Linked DNA regions of Homo sapiens: region 2 is linked to region 1. The links are contacts of gene promoters, found by promoter capture Hi-C in human tissues and cell types (Jung and others, 2019). All regions are on one chromosome and are shown on one strand. The core of a region is centred on a gene start or on the middle of the fragment in contact, and the rest is flanking DNA. Distances in the headings are between cores, read along the strand shown.

Region 1 (5,492 bases), core at 290-2,789:
TCTGACCACATTCCAGTCCTCACCCTGTTCCACCCTACCCATTCCTGGGGCCACCCTGCAGCAGGCCCGTAGCACCCTGGTTTCTGCTGAGAGGAGCCCCTTGGCCTCACTAGGCCACTTGCCCAAATCCCAGTGCACTTTGGACATCCTGGGGTTGATCCCCAAGGACGGAGCAGTGCCCATACTTTGCCATGTGGCTGGGGCATGGGATGAGACAGCCAAGGCTCTGCTCAGGCACCTTCAGACACAAGTTCCCTCCCCAGGCGCCTCTGCCACATGGCCACACGGGGGTGTTCGAGGGGGACAGCAGATGGCACAGCTGAGTTGGGAAACAGCCTGCAGTTCCTCCAGCAGTCACCCAGAGACTCCACTCCTAGGCATATGCCCACGAGAAACAAAAACACATGTCCAGGACAAAACTTGCACATCTGTGTTCAGAGCAGCAGATGTGTTCATAGCAGCAGATGTGTTCAGAGCAGCAGCATACATCACAGCCCGAGAAATGGAAACCGACCACAGCAATATACATCACAGCTCAAGAGATGGAAACTGACCAGGTGTCCACCAACAGATGAATAACTGTGGCCTATCCATAAAATGGAGTATTTTCCAACATATAAAAACAAATGGTCCGGCCAGGTGCAGTGGCTCAAACCTGTGATCCCAACACTTTGGGAGGCCGAGGCGGGCGGATCACCTGAGGCTGGGAGTTTGAGATCAGCCTGACTAACATGAGAAACCCCATCTCTACTAAAAATATAAAATTAGGCGGGAGTGGTGGCGCCTGCCTGTAATCCCAGCTACTCCGGAGGCTGAGGCAGGAGAATCTCTTGAACCCCAGAGGTGGAGGTTGCAGTGAGCTGAGATAGCACCATTGCACTCCAGCATGGACGAGAATGAAACTCCGTCTCAAAAACAAAAAAAAACAAAAAAACACACAAATGAGGCCAGGCACAATGGCTCATGCCTATAATCCCAGCACTTTGGGAGGCCAAGATGGGTAGAGATCTCTTGAGCCCAGGGGTTCGAGACCAGCCTGGGGAACGTGGTGAAATTACCCAGGAGTGGTATGTGTGCTTGTCATCCCAGCCACTTGGGGGACTGAGGTGGAAAGATAGCTTGAGCCTGGAGTCAAGGCTGCAGTGAGCCAAGTTCGTGCCACTGCACTCCAGCCGTGGTGAAAAAGTGAGATGCTATCTCAGAGCAGGTCAGTGATGGCAGGTGGTAGAACATGCAGACACACAGATGTGGAAACAAAACACCTCTTCCTGATGCGAATTATTTGAGTATAGCATTGGCTGCTTCTGGGTGAGAACATCATAGAGGAGTTTTACTTTGTTTTATACATTTTCTGTCTCTTCCACTCTGAACGTACATATGTTTGGTTTGGTTTTTCTGAGACAGGGTCTCACTCTGTCACCCAGGCTGGAGTGCAGTGGTACGATCATAGCTACTGGAACCTCAACTTCCCAGGCTCAAGCGATCCTCCCGCCTCAGCCTCCTAAGTAGCTGGAATCACAGGGGTGGGCTAGTTTTTCTTTTCTTTTTTTTTTTTTTTTTTGAGATGGAGTCTCATTCTGTCACCCAGGCTGGAGTACAATGGTGCAATCTCGGCTCACTGCAACGTCCACCTCCCAGGTTGAAGTGATTCTCCTGCTTCAGCCTCCCATGTAGCTAGGATTACAGGCACCTGCCACCACGCCCAGCTAAATTTTTTGTAGTTTTGGTAGAGACGGGGTTCCACTATCTTGGCCAGCCTGGTCTCGAACTCCTGACCTCAGGTGATCTACCCACCTCAGGCTTCCAGAGTGCTAGGATTACAGGTATGAGCCACCGTGCCCGGCCTAAAAGTTTTCTTTTCTTTTTGAGACAGAGTCTTGCTCTGTCACCCAGACTGGAGTGCAGTGGTGTGATCTCAGCTAACTGCAACCTTCGCCTCCTGGGTTCAAGCAATTCTCCTGCCTCAGCCTCCTAAATGGGACTACAGGTGTGTGCCACCATGCCCGGCTAATTTTTTATATTTTTTAGTGGAGTCGGGGTTTCACCGTGTTAGCCAGGATGGTCTCGATCTCCTGACCTCGTGATCCCCACGCCTCGGCCTCCCAAAGTGCTGGGAGCCACCGTGCCCAGCCTAAAATTTCTTTATATTTTTGTAGAGACAAGGTTTCACTTTGTTGCCCAGGCTGGTCTGGAACTCCTGGGCTCAAGTGATCCTCCCATCTCAGCCTCCCAAATTGCTGGGATTACAGGCATGAGCCATCTTGCCCAGCCAGCATATATTTTATATAACAATAGTTTACTTTTTAAAAATCATGTAAACATAGGCTTGTGTTGATCAGGACAGAGGAAGGACAGAATCTGAATCTGCAGGTGCTAACTAGTGGCTTTTCTTCTCTGCTGAGTGGGTGGATGGTACTTCCTGGGAAATCCCTCATTTCTGATCACCAGCAAGTGAGGGAGCTGGCTCTGGAGCAGAGGGCAGATCTAGGCTGACATGAGCTGGTCAAGTCCAAGCTGTGGGCTGTGCTCCCCAGTCTGGCATTCCCCAGGGCTGAGAGAGTCAAACTTGCCTGATGCCATGTAGACCCTGCTCCAACAGAGGAAAAATCTCTGAGAGCTCCTTCCTTGTGGGGGACCACTTACTTTCCAGCCTGAATTCCTTCCCAGGTTGATGACAGCTTTATAAGAATTCGGTCCTTGCTGATCCCAGCTTCCTTGTAGAGCTCGATGAGCCGCCTGGCTCTGGCCACCATCGCATCTTTATCAAAGGAGAGCCTGTAGGAGCAAGAAGAACCCATCCCCTCAGATCACGCAGGTTGCCCACCACGCAGAGCAAGCTGGAGGCCGGGTGTCTGCCTGTCAGTTTTGAGCAGCACCACCGTGAGCACCAACCACTGCCCTCAACCTTCCCCTCACTGGAGGTTTGCAGAATGGCTCTGACAGCAACTCACACCCAGTCTCACAAACAGAGGTCCTCAGTGGGATCCATAGGCTATAATTTGTATTAAAAAACACTGGGCCAGGTGCCGTGGCTCACGCCTGTAATCCCAACACTTTGGGAGGCTGAGGCGGGAAGATCACAAGGTCAAGGGATCGAGACCATCCTGGCCAACATGGTGAAACCCTGTCGCTACTAAAAATACAAAAAAATTAGCTGGGTATGGTGGCGGGTGTCTGTAGTCCCAGCTACTTGGGAGGCTGAGGCAGGAGAATCGCTTGAACCCGGGAGGTGAAGGTTGCAGTGAGCTGAGATCACACCACTGCACTCTACACTGGCAACAGAGCGAGACTCTGTCTCAAAAAACAAACAAAACAAATCAAAACAAAAAACACTAGCAGCCGGGCACAGTGGCTCATGCCTGTGATCCCAGCACTTTGGGAGGCCGAGGCAGGTGGATCATGACGTCAGGAGTTCAAGACCAGCCTGGCCAAAATGGTCAAACCCCATCTCTATTAAAAATACAACAAATTAGCTGGGCATGGTGGCAGGTGCCTGTAATCTCAGCTACTTGGGAGGCTGAGGCAGAGAAACGCTTCAAGCCGGGAGACAGAGGTTGCAGTGAGCTGAGATTGCGCCACTGTACTCCAGCCTGGGTGACAGTGCGAGACTCCATCTCAAAAATAAATAAAAATAAAAATAAAAAACACTAGAGATCAGTTGCTAAACAAGGAGCTCTTGGTCATCACTACCAACTGTGGGAGAGCTCAAAATAAACCTCCTCTTGGGCCCTTGGGATGAAGACCATGGGTGGAGCAGCCCCTTGACCTCATGTTGGCATCCACGTGTGCAACTGTGGACACCTGACCAGCCCATCCAGTGCAGGAGCAAGCATCCTTACCTTGCGTCTACTTCTGTGGATACTCGGCCCGGAATCTTCTTTAGTATTTCTGCTCCAAACAACACAAAAAGTTTATCAATAGCATTTTTAATCTGGTCCTCTTGTGACCTGAAATTCAAAGGGAAAAAAAGCAGGTTAGAAGCTTCTGAGGTTCGCCAGGTGCGGTGGCTCACGCCTGTAATCCCAGCACTTTGGGAGGCCGAGGTGGGCGGATCATGAGGTCAGGAGATCAAGACCATCCTGGCTAACACGGTGAAACCCCGTCTCCACTAAAAATATTAAAAAATTAGCTGGGCATGGTGGCGGGTGCCTGTAGTCCTAGTTACTAGGGAGGCTGAGGCAGGAGAATGACGTGAACCTGGGAGGTGGAGCTTGCAGTGAGCAGAGATCGTGCCACTGCACTCCAGCCTGAGCGACAGAGCGAGACTCCATCTCAAGAAAAAAAAAAAGAAGCTTCTGAGGTTCAAGTGCACAAGACTCTACAAAATAAATTCTGTTATTTCTTTGCCAAATTTCCTTCCCTCCATCTTTTTTTTTCTCTTAAAACATTTTTTTATTGTGGCCAAATAATACATATAACATAAAATTTCCCATCTTATCCTTTTTTTTTTCCCCCAAGACAGGGTCTCCAGCTAAGGCTGGAAGCACAGTAGTGTGATTATGGCTCATTACAGCCTTGACCTCCCGGGCTCAAGTGATCCTCCTGCCTCAGCCTCCCAAGTAGCTGGGACTACAGCTGCACACCTCTATACCTGGCTAATTTTTTTGTTTTGTTGAGATGGAGTGTCACTCTGTCGCCCAGGCTGGAGTGCAGTGGCACAATCTCGGCTCTGCCAGCTCTGCCCCCCGCGGTTCACGCCATTCTCCTGCCTCAACCTCCTGAGTAGCTGGGACTACAGGCGCCCGCCACTGTGCCCGGCTAATTTTTTTGTATTTTTGGTGGAGACGGGGTTTCACCGTGTTAGCCAGGATGGTCTCGATCTCCTGACCTCGTGATCCGCCTGTCTTGGCCTCTCAAAGTGCTGGGATTACAGGCGTGAGCCACCACGCCTGGCCCATGCCCAGCTAATTTTTATATTTTTTTGTAGAGACAGAGTTTTGCCCTATTGCCTAGACTGTTCTCGAACTCTTAGGCTGAAGGGATCCTCCCATCTTGGCCTACCAAAGCACTGGGGTTACAGGCGTGCACCACTGCCCCCAGCCCACCATTTTAAAATGTATTCAGCACATTCACAGTTCTGTACAACCATCACCATCCATCTCCAGAGCTCTTTTCATCATCCCAAACTGCATCCCTCTATCTTTTGGCACTTGCAAAATATTATATTTTCTATCTCTTCAAAGTTATTGGACAGACACCCAGTGAAGTCCATGATTCTGTTCCAAAATCTGAGCAGCCTTGTTAGCCCACTACACACAGGAAGATCTTCAGCTAGACGCTCAGAGGTTAGAATTCTTGGGCCAGACTGGGTGCAGTGGCTCACGCCTGTAATCACAGCACCCTGGCAGGCCAAGGTGGGCAGACTGCTCAAGCTCAGGAGTTCGAAACCAGCTAGGGCAACATGGTGAAACCCTGCCTCTAAAAACAAATACAAATATTAGCCAGGTGTGGTGGCGTGCACCTGTAGTCCCAGCTACTTGGGAGGCTGAGGT
Region 2 (6,294 bases), core at 2,805-5,304, 120 kb after region 1:
CCAGCCACATTGGTGGACGCTGGGCAGAGGTTGGCTGGGCACCAGGGGTGACTGAGCACGGAGCTCCCTCCAGGGAAGCCACTTGGTGGGGCCCCACCCATCACCACAGGCCCCTTGCTGTGGGGCTTGGGGCATCCTCTGGCCAGGGACTGGCAGGAAGCTAGGCTCTGGCCTCAAGGCAGCTTCTAAAATGACAGGTTGGGCTCCCCTGCCGGGGTCTGCTGGGGCAGCATGAGCCTGGAGCCCCCTGTGCCTGGTTCTCAGAGGTGGGAGTTGGCCCGGGCAGGGCCTGGCGGCTGACAGCCCCCCACCCCGCCTCTCCCCATTTGTTTCTTCCCATCGGAACTGGGCTTCCCCAGGAGACACCTTGCCCTGCTGGGTGCTGCTTCCTCTCCCCTGCAGAGAGGGGAAGCTGGGCCCCAGCGCTGCGGAACTGAGTGGCTCTCGGGGGCCCCTTCCCCCCTCACCCTGAGCAGGCGGCCGGCTTGGTGGGGTCTGCTCTGTGGGCTTCCTTGGCGGGGAGAAAGAGGTTAACTGGCTGGGGGGCCTGGGGCCACTGAGGCAGAAACCCCTCTTCCCCACTCCCCATCAGCCCCCAGGAGCCTTCACAGCTGAGTTTGGGAAGGAATTTGTTTAATTAACGTACAAAAGCGCCCTCCCCATCTCCTTGGTCCCTGAGGCCTGGCCATCAGGCCGGGGGGCGTCCGGGGGTGCCCGGCTCAGCAGCAGGCACGCAGGGCCTTGCGGAAGACGTTGCGGAACTCGGCGTTGAAGACAGTGTAGATGACGGGGTTGAGGGCGCTGTTGACGTAGCCCAGCCAGGTGACGGCGCTGACCAGCCGCGGGGGCACGGAGCAGGCAGGACACAGCGCCTGCGTGATGTGCACCACGAAGAAGGGCGTCCAGCACAGCAGGAAGGCCCCTGGGGGCGCCGAGAGCCGCGTTAGCGCCCCCCGCCCAGCCGGCCTCGTACCCCCCCCCTCCTCTCCTCCCCGCCCCTCAGGACAGGAACCCACCGACCACCACCGGCAGGACCCTCATGGCCTTGCGCTCCCGGCCGGTGATCTTGGCACGCCGCCTCCTGCGGGTCTGCGGTGGAGTCTGGGGTGGGAGCGCGGCGGCTCTGACGGCGTCGGGGGGAGCACAGTTGGAGCCGCAGGGGTCCGGGGGGAGGCCGGGCGCGGGGGGCGCACAGTCGGGGCCGCAGGGGTCCTGGGGGAGGCTGGGCGCGGCGGGCGCACAGTCGGGGCCGCAGGGACCCCGGGGAAGGCCGGGCGCGGGGGGCGCACAGTCGGGGCCGCAGGGGTCCTGGGGGAGGCGGGGCGCGGGTGGCGTGGGGGAAGGCGGGCCAGGGCCGCTGGGTCGGCGGGGCGCGCGGCCGTGCAGCTTGGCGCGACGTGCCACCTCCCAGCGCTGCAGGCCGCGGAACGTGGCCCAGTAGAGCAGCAGCATGAGCGGGCAGGGTAGGAAGAAGGAGCACACGGACGAGTAGACCACGTAGTCGCGGTCCTCCAGGCGGCACACGGCGGGGTCGCGGCCGCGCACGTCGTTGAGGCCGCACAGTACGGGCGCCGCCACCGCCGCGGACAGCAGCCACGTGGCGCCGATGAGCAGCAGCTGCCGGCGGCTCCCACCCTGCCGGTTGTAGCGCAGCGGCACGGCCACGGCCACGAACCTGCGGGGAGCGCCGAGGGGGCGCCGGACAGCGCACAGGCCGCGGTGAGGGCGGCGGGCGGGGCGCGGGGGCGCCGGGGCGCGGGCGGGGAGGGCGGCGCACCTGTCCACGCTGATGGCGCACAGGTTGAAGATGGAGGCGGTGCACAGCATGACGTCCATGGCCATGAGGGCGTCGCACAGGCGGGGGCTCAGCAGCCACGCGCCACCCTGGACCTGCGCGGCGACACCACAGGCCCTGAGGTTTCCCAGCCACCGCGGGCCCTTGTGACCCGCCCCCACTCTTATGGGTAGTTCCAGGGCTGAATACGGAGAAGGGGGCCCGGCTGTGAGCCAGAGGCCAGAGGACCGGGCAGGGAAACACCCCTTCCCCACGCAGATCTCCCTTTGTTTTGAGTTAGGGTCTCGCTGTGTCACCGCGGCTGGAGTGCTGTGGCTCCATCATGGCTCACTGTAGCCTGGAATTCCTGAGCTCAAGCGATCCTCCCACCTCAGTCTCCAGAGTAGCTGGGATTACAGCCGCGCGCCACCACCCCCGGCTGATTTGTTTTTCTTTTTGTTTTTTGAGACGGAGTTTCGCTCTTGTTGCCCAGGCTGGAGTGCAGTGGTGAGATCTCAACTCACTGCAACCTCCGCCTCCCAGGTTTAAGCGATTCTGCCGCCTCAGCTCCCCCGAATAGCTGGGACAACAGCCGCAGCCACCACCCCCGGCTGATATTTTAAAATTTTTTGTAGAGACCAGGCCTGGTATGTTTCCCAGGCTGGTCTCAAACTATCCTCCTGCCTTTGCCTCCCAAAGTCCTGGGATTACAGGCGTGAATCACGGCTTCTGGCCTTGGTCTCCCTTTTGTTACAAACATGAGAACGGCCTGGGGAATTCCCTGGGGGCGGGCCTGATATCATCGGGCTCAAAGGGAGCCCCTCCCCAGCCTGGGGTAGGCAGGGTCCCCGCTGGGCCTAGAAGCGAAGCTGGCTGCTCTGTTGGCTAAGTTCTCTGTGGGAGACTCGGGCACGTTAATTCATTTCTGTTTCTTCATCTGTAAGACAAGGGTGATGATAGTATCCACATCATAATTGTCTTGAAGATAAATTATAATTAAAAATATGAAGACCGTGCCCAGTGCCCAGCGTAGGACTCCACGTGGAGTGACTCTCTCCAAGGGCAAAGGAGCAGGCAGCCCCTCTAATCCTTCCCGCCGATTTGGGGAGATTAGGAGCTTAAACGTCGTCACTGTGACGTCTGCGGCTCGAAAGGAGCACAGGTCACGCGTGTCCCGTGCTGCTGGTCTCTGCCCCAGCCGCCTGGATTCACTGTGTCCATCAAGGGGAAACCTCGAGTCCCCCTCCCCCACAGTCGGGGACACCGCGTCTCCAGCTCAGCCCTAAGCTGCTTTTCTCTGGCCGCAGAGGGGCTGGCACCAAGGCCGACCCACTCGAGGGCCAGACCTGGTGTGGAGTGTGGGCTCCATCCCCCAATTCCCCCTCAGGCTTCCCCCCAGGGTTCTCAGCAGGGGCCTGGTCCCCACACACCCTCCCCTCCCCTGGGTTTTGTCCAGCCCAGGTCTCCCCTGCGAGCTGTGAGCCTCCTTCTGGGGGTGTGCCAGCATCTGCACTAGGTGTGTGTGGTGGGCAGTGGCTGTGGCAGTGTGTGTGTGTGTGTGTCCCACGGCAGCCAGGGGGCTGAGCCTGCATCTGCCTGTCTGTCCAGCTGGCTGCCCTGGAGGTGAAATCCAGCTACGGAGGGGACTGGGCTTGACAAAGTCGCCTGTTTCCGGGGTCCCTGGATAGAAGGACGGGCATCTCCTGGATAACAGACGCCAAGACAGACGGGGAAGGAGAAGAGGAACGAGGGTCGGGGGACAGACAGCGCAGCGGGTGGAAGGTCGCGAGGTGGCGGCGGTGGGTGTATCGCCGAGGGACAAGGCGCAGCGCCCCTGCCGCCGCCCCAGCTGGAAGCTCCGCACCAGAAAGGGGCCGGGTCGCGCCGGGTCCTCCGTAGGGACAGGGACGGGGAACCGAGGAGCAGGTGAGGATGCTCGTGCGGCCGGACGCGGCTCACCTCGGAGTAGACGAAGAGCGGCAGCACCAGGAGAGCGAGGAGGAGGTCGGCGGCCGCCAGGCTCACGATGAAGGAGTTGGTGGGCGTCTGCAGGGCGCGCTCGGTGGCCACGCTCACGCACACGAGCGAGTTCCCCGCGAGCACCGCGCCGATGAGCAGCACGCCCCCCACCAGCGCCGCCGCGCCCTGCCCAGCCAGCCCCGCAGATGCCCCCGCAGATGCCCCCGCGGCCGGCCCGCGCCCAGCCAGCAGCCCGTCCGCGTCCGCGGTGCTGCGGTTCCCCATGGCGCGCCCGGGCGGGCGCTGAGCACCGCGGACAACGCCGGGTCGCAAGCCGGGGAGTCCCTCCCCTCGGGCACGCCCCGGCCGGACCCTGGTCCCGCCCCCGACCCGCCCCGGCTCAGGGGGGCCCCCGCGGCGCTCCACCGTGAGCCCAGTATTTGCTCATCTTGGAATTTTGCGCAGGGAGAGACGGGCACGTGGACGAATGCGGCGGCCCAAAGAGACGGGAATGAAGCGAGGTGGTGGCCACGGGCAGGCCAGCATCGCCCGGCGCCGCGCGGGGTCCGCGACCCGAGAAACCGACAAGGATGGAGGGGCGGCCAGACCAGGCCCTGAAGCGCGCGGGCATCGACGCCAGCGCCATCCTACCCGGCCCGTGCGTGCGTCCCGGCCCTCGGGCGCTCACCCTAGTCCACCTGGTATCTGGCAAAACCTCCCTCCCAGGCCCGTTCCGCCAGACGCAGAAAGACCTGAGCTCAGGCTCTGCCCGCCTCCCCCGCGGACTCGCCTCGACCTCGTGCGCACCCTCCACGCCCGCTCCCCCTGCCCCCGACTCCGCGCCCGACTCAACCGCCGACGCCTAGCTCATCCCGCCGCCCCCCCCCCGCAGCCTCTGGCCCTCAGCCCCCGCGACCACCACGGTCAGCCGCGGCCCCACCCGTTGCACAGTTGATCCTCGCGTGGCCGCCTCCGAAACTGGGCGGACAGCTGAGCGGTCGACCCCGCTCCCTCCTCCATTCCCTCCGGCCCAAGACCGTGAGCTAGGTAGGCGCCCCTCTGACCCTGGGCAGGGGGTCCCGGGACCGGACAGTAGGTTCGGCTCGCGAGGAGGCCAGGAGAAAGACACGACAGGCCGGGGTAGGTTCCAAACGTGCAGAAGAGAAAGTGCTTGCAAAGCGCAGCAGAGAATTCTATGGACTCTTCACCAAAGAGGGGTGACCTGTGACCTGAGAGGTATTTTCTGTAGTCTGTCACTAAGGGGCCTAGAAGACACTAAAAGGGGGCACCACTCTGTGGGACCCCAGGCGGCGCACATCCTGATGCTCTAGTCTGTTTCTGGGAGGCCTGGAGTGGAGGGGCTGTGCCAGGAATTGAGGCCCCTGACCTCGAAGGTCTGGAGGACACGGGCTAGACGGAGGCGCTGACAGGGCGTGCGTTAAAGGGAGAAATGAGGACTCTGAGAAGGAGCAGGCACCGTGAGCCTCACAGGACAAGGTCACGGGGCTGCGGGGGAAGGGCCTGCACCAGGGACAGGTGTGCACAGGCATCAGGTGCGGCCGCAGCCAGGCTCAGTCCCTCTTGTGCAGATCAGTCTGCTGCCCTTGTGAACCCTTGAGCAAAAGAAGTCACCACAGGAGAGACCACCAGGGACAGGTGTGCACAGGCATCAGGTGCGGCCGCAGCCAGGCTCAGTCCCTCTTGTGCAGATCAGTCTGCTGCCCTTGTGAACCCTTGAGCAAAAGAAGTCACCACAGGAGAGACTGGGACAGTGGAAGTTTCTTCTCTCCCAGGATGGAACCGGGGAGGGTGGCCCTGGGGTCTCCGGCTGGGCGCCAAACGGCGAGTCCAGCCCAGCCTCTGGTCGGCTTAGAGTTCCTTCAAGTAGCCCCCAAGATGTCTGCGACCACCAAGAGTGAAAACCAAGCTAGGCGGAGAAAGGATGTGTGCAGCACACATCTCTGACACACAGATCCAGAAACAATGGAAACAATGAGAAAAGACAGACAACCCCAATTTGTTTTTTTTTTTTTTTTTTTTTTGAGATGGAGTTTCACTCTTATCACCCAGGCTGGAGTGCAGCAGCACAATCTTGGCTCACTGCAACCTCCGTCTCCCGGGTTCAAGCGATTCTCCTGCCTCAGCCTTCTGAGTAGCTGGGATTATAGGCGCCCGCCACCACGCCCGGCTAATTTTTTTGTATTTTTAGTAGAGACACGGTTTCATCATATTGGCCAGGCTGGTCTCGAACTCCTGACCTCAGGTGATCCACCTGCCTCAGCTTCCTAAAGTGCTGGGATTACAGCTGTGAGCCACTGCCCCCAGCCTCCACTAAACTTCTGTTGTTTATCTGAAAATCAAATGTAACTGGATGTGATCACATCTTACTGCAATCATGGCTCACTGCAGCCTCAATCTCCTGGGCTCAAGTGATCCTCTGGCCTCAGCCTCCTGTACAACTGAGACTACAGATGCGTGGTGCCACACCCAGCTAATTTTCTTATTTTTTGTAGAGACGGGGTCTCGCCATGTTAGCCCAGCCGGTCTCAAACTCCTGGGCT

What was found. Contacts are between HindIII fragments. The study calls those that stand out against the background at their distance.
Region 2: the fragment with the promoter of DRD4 here is called in contact with a fragment that was not itself captured in region 1 in 4 of the 25 tissues and cell types used here (H1 embryonic stem cells, dorsolateral prefrontal cortex, mesenchymal stem cells and 1 more).

The regions. Positions count from the first base shown.
Region 1 is chr11:757,405-762,896 of GRCh38, reverse strand. It overlaps TALDO1 (transaldolase 1), which reads right to left. Exons shown (of 8, transcript NM_006755.2): 3 at 3,840-3,947; 4 at 2,644-2,775. Among named protein-coding and RNA genes, the nearest start is that of TALDO1, 13 kb to the right of the region's middle. RefSeq lists an enhancer at 1-309. The HindIII fragment of the contact is 7,127 bases long and covers 1-5,102 here.
Region 2 is chr11:635,029-641,322 of GRCh38, reverse strand. It overlaps DRD4 (dopamine receptor D4), which reads right to left and starts at 4,054. Exons shown (of 4, transcript NM_000797.4): 1 at 3,734-4,054; 2 at 1,778-1,890; 3 at 1,017-1,675; 4 at 617-922. The coding sequence starts at 4,018. The coding sequence ends at 720. RefSeq lists enhancers at 2,565-3,098, 3,099-3,633, 3,634-4,167, 4,703-5,236, 5,237-5,772 and 4 more. The HindIII fragment of the contact is 8,949 bases long and covers 3,987-6,294 here.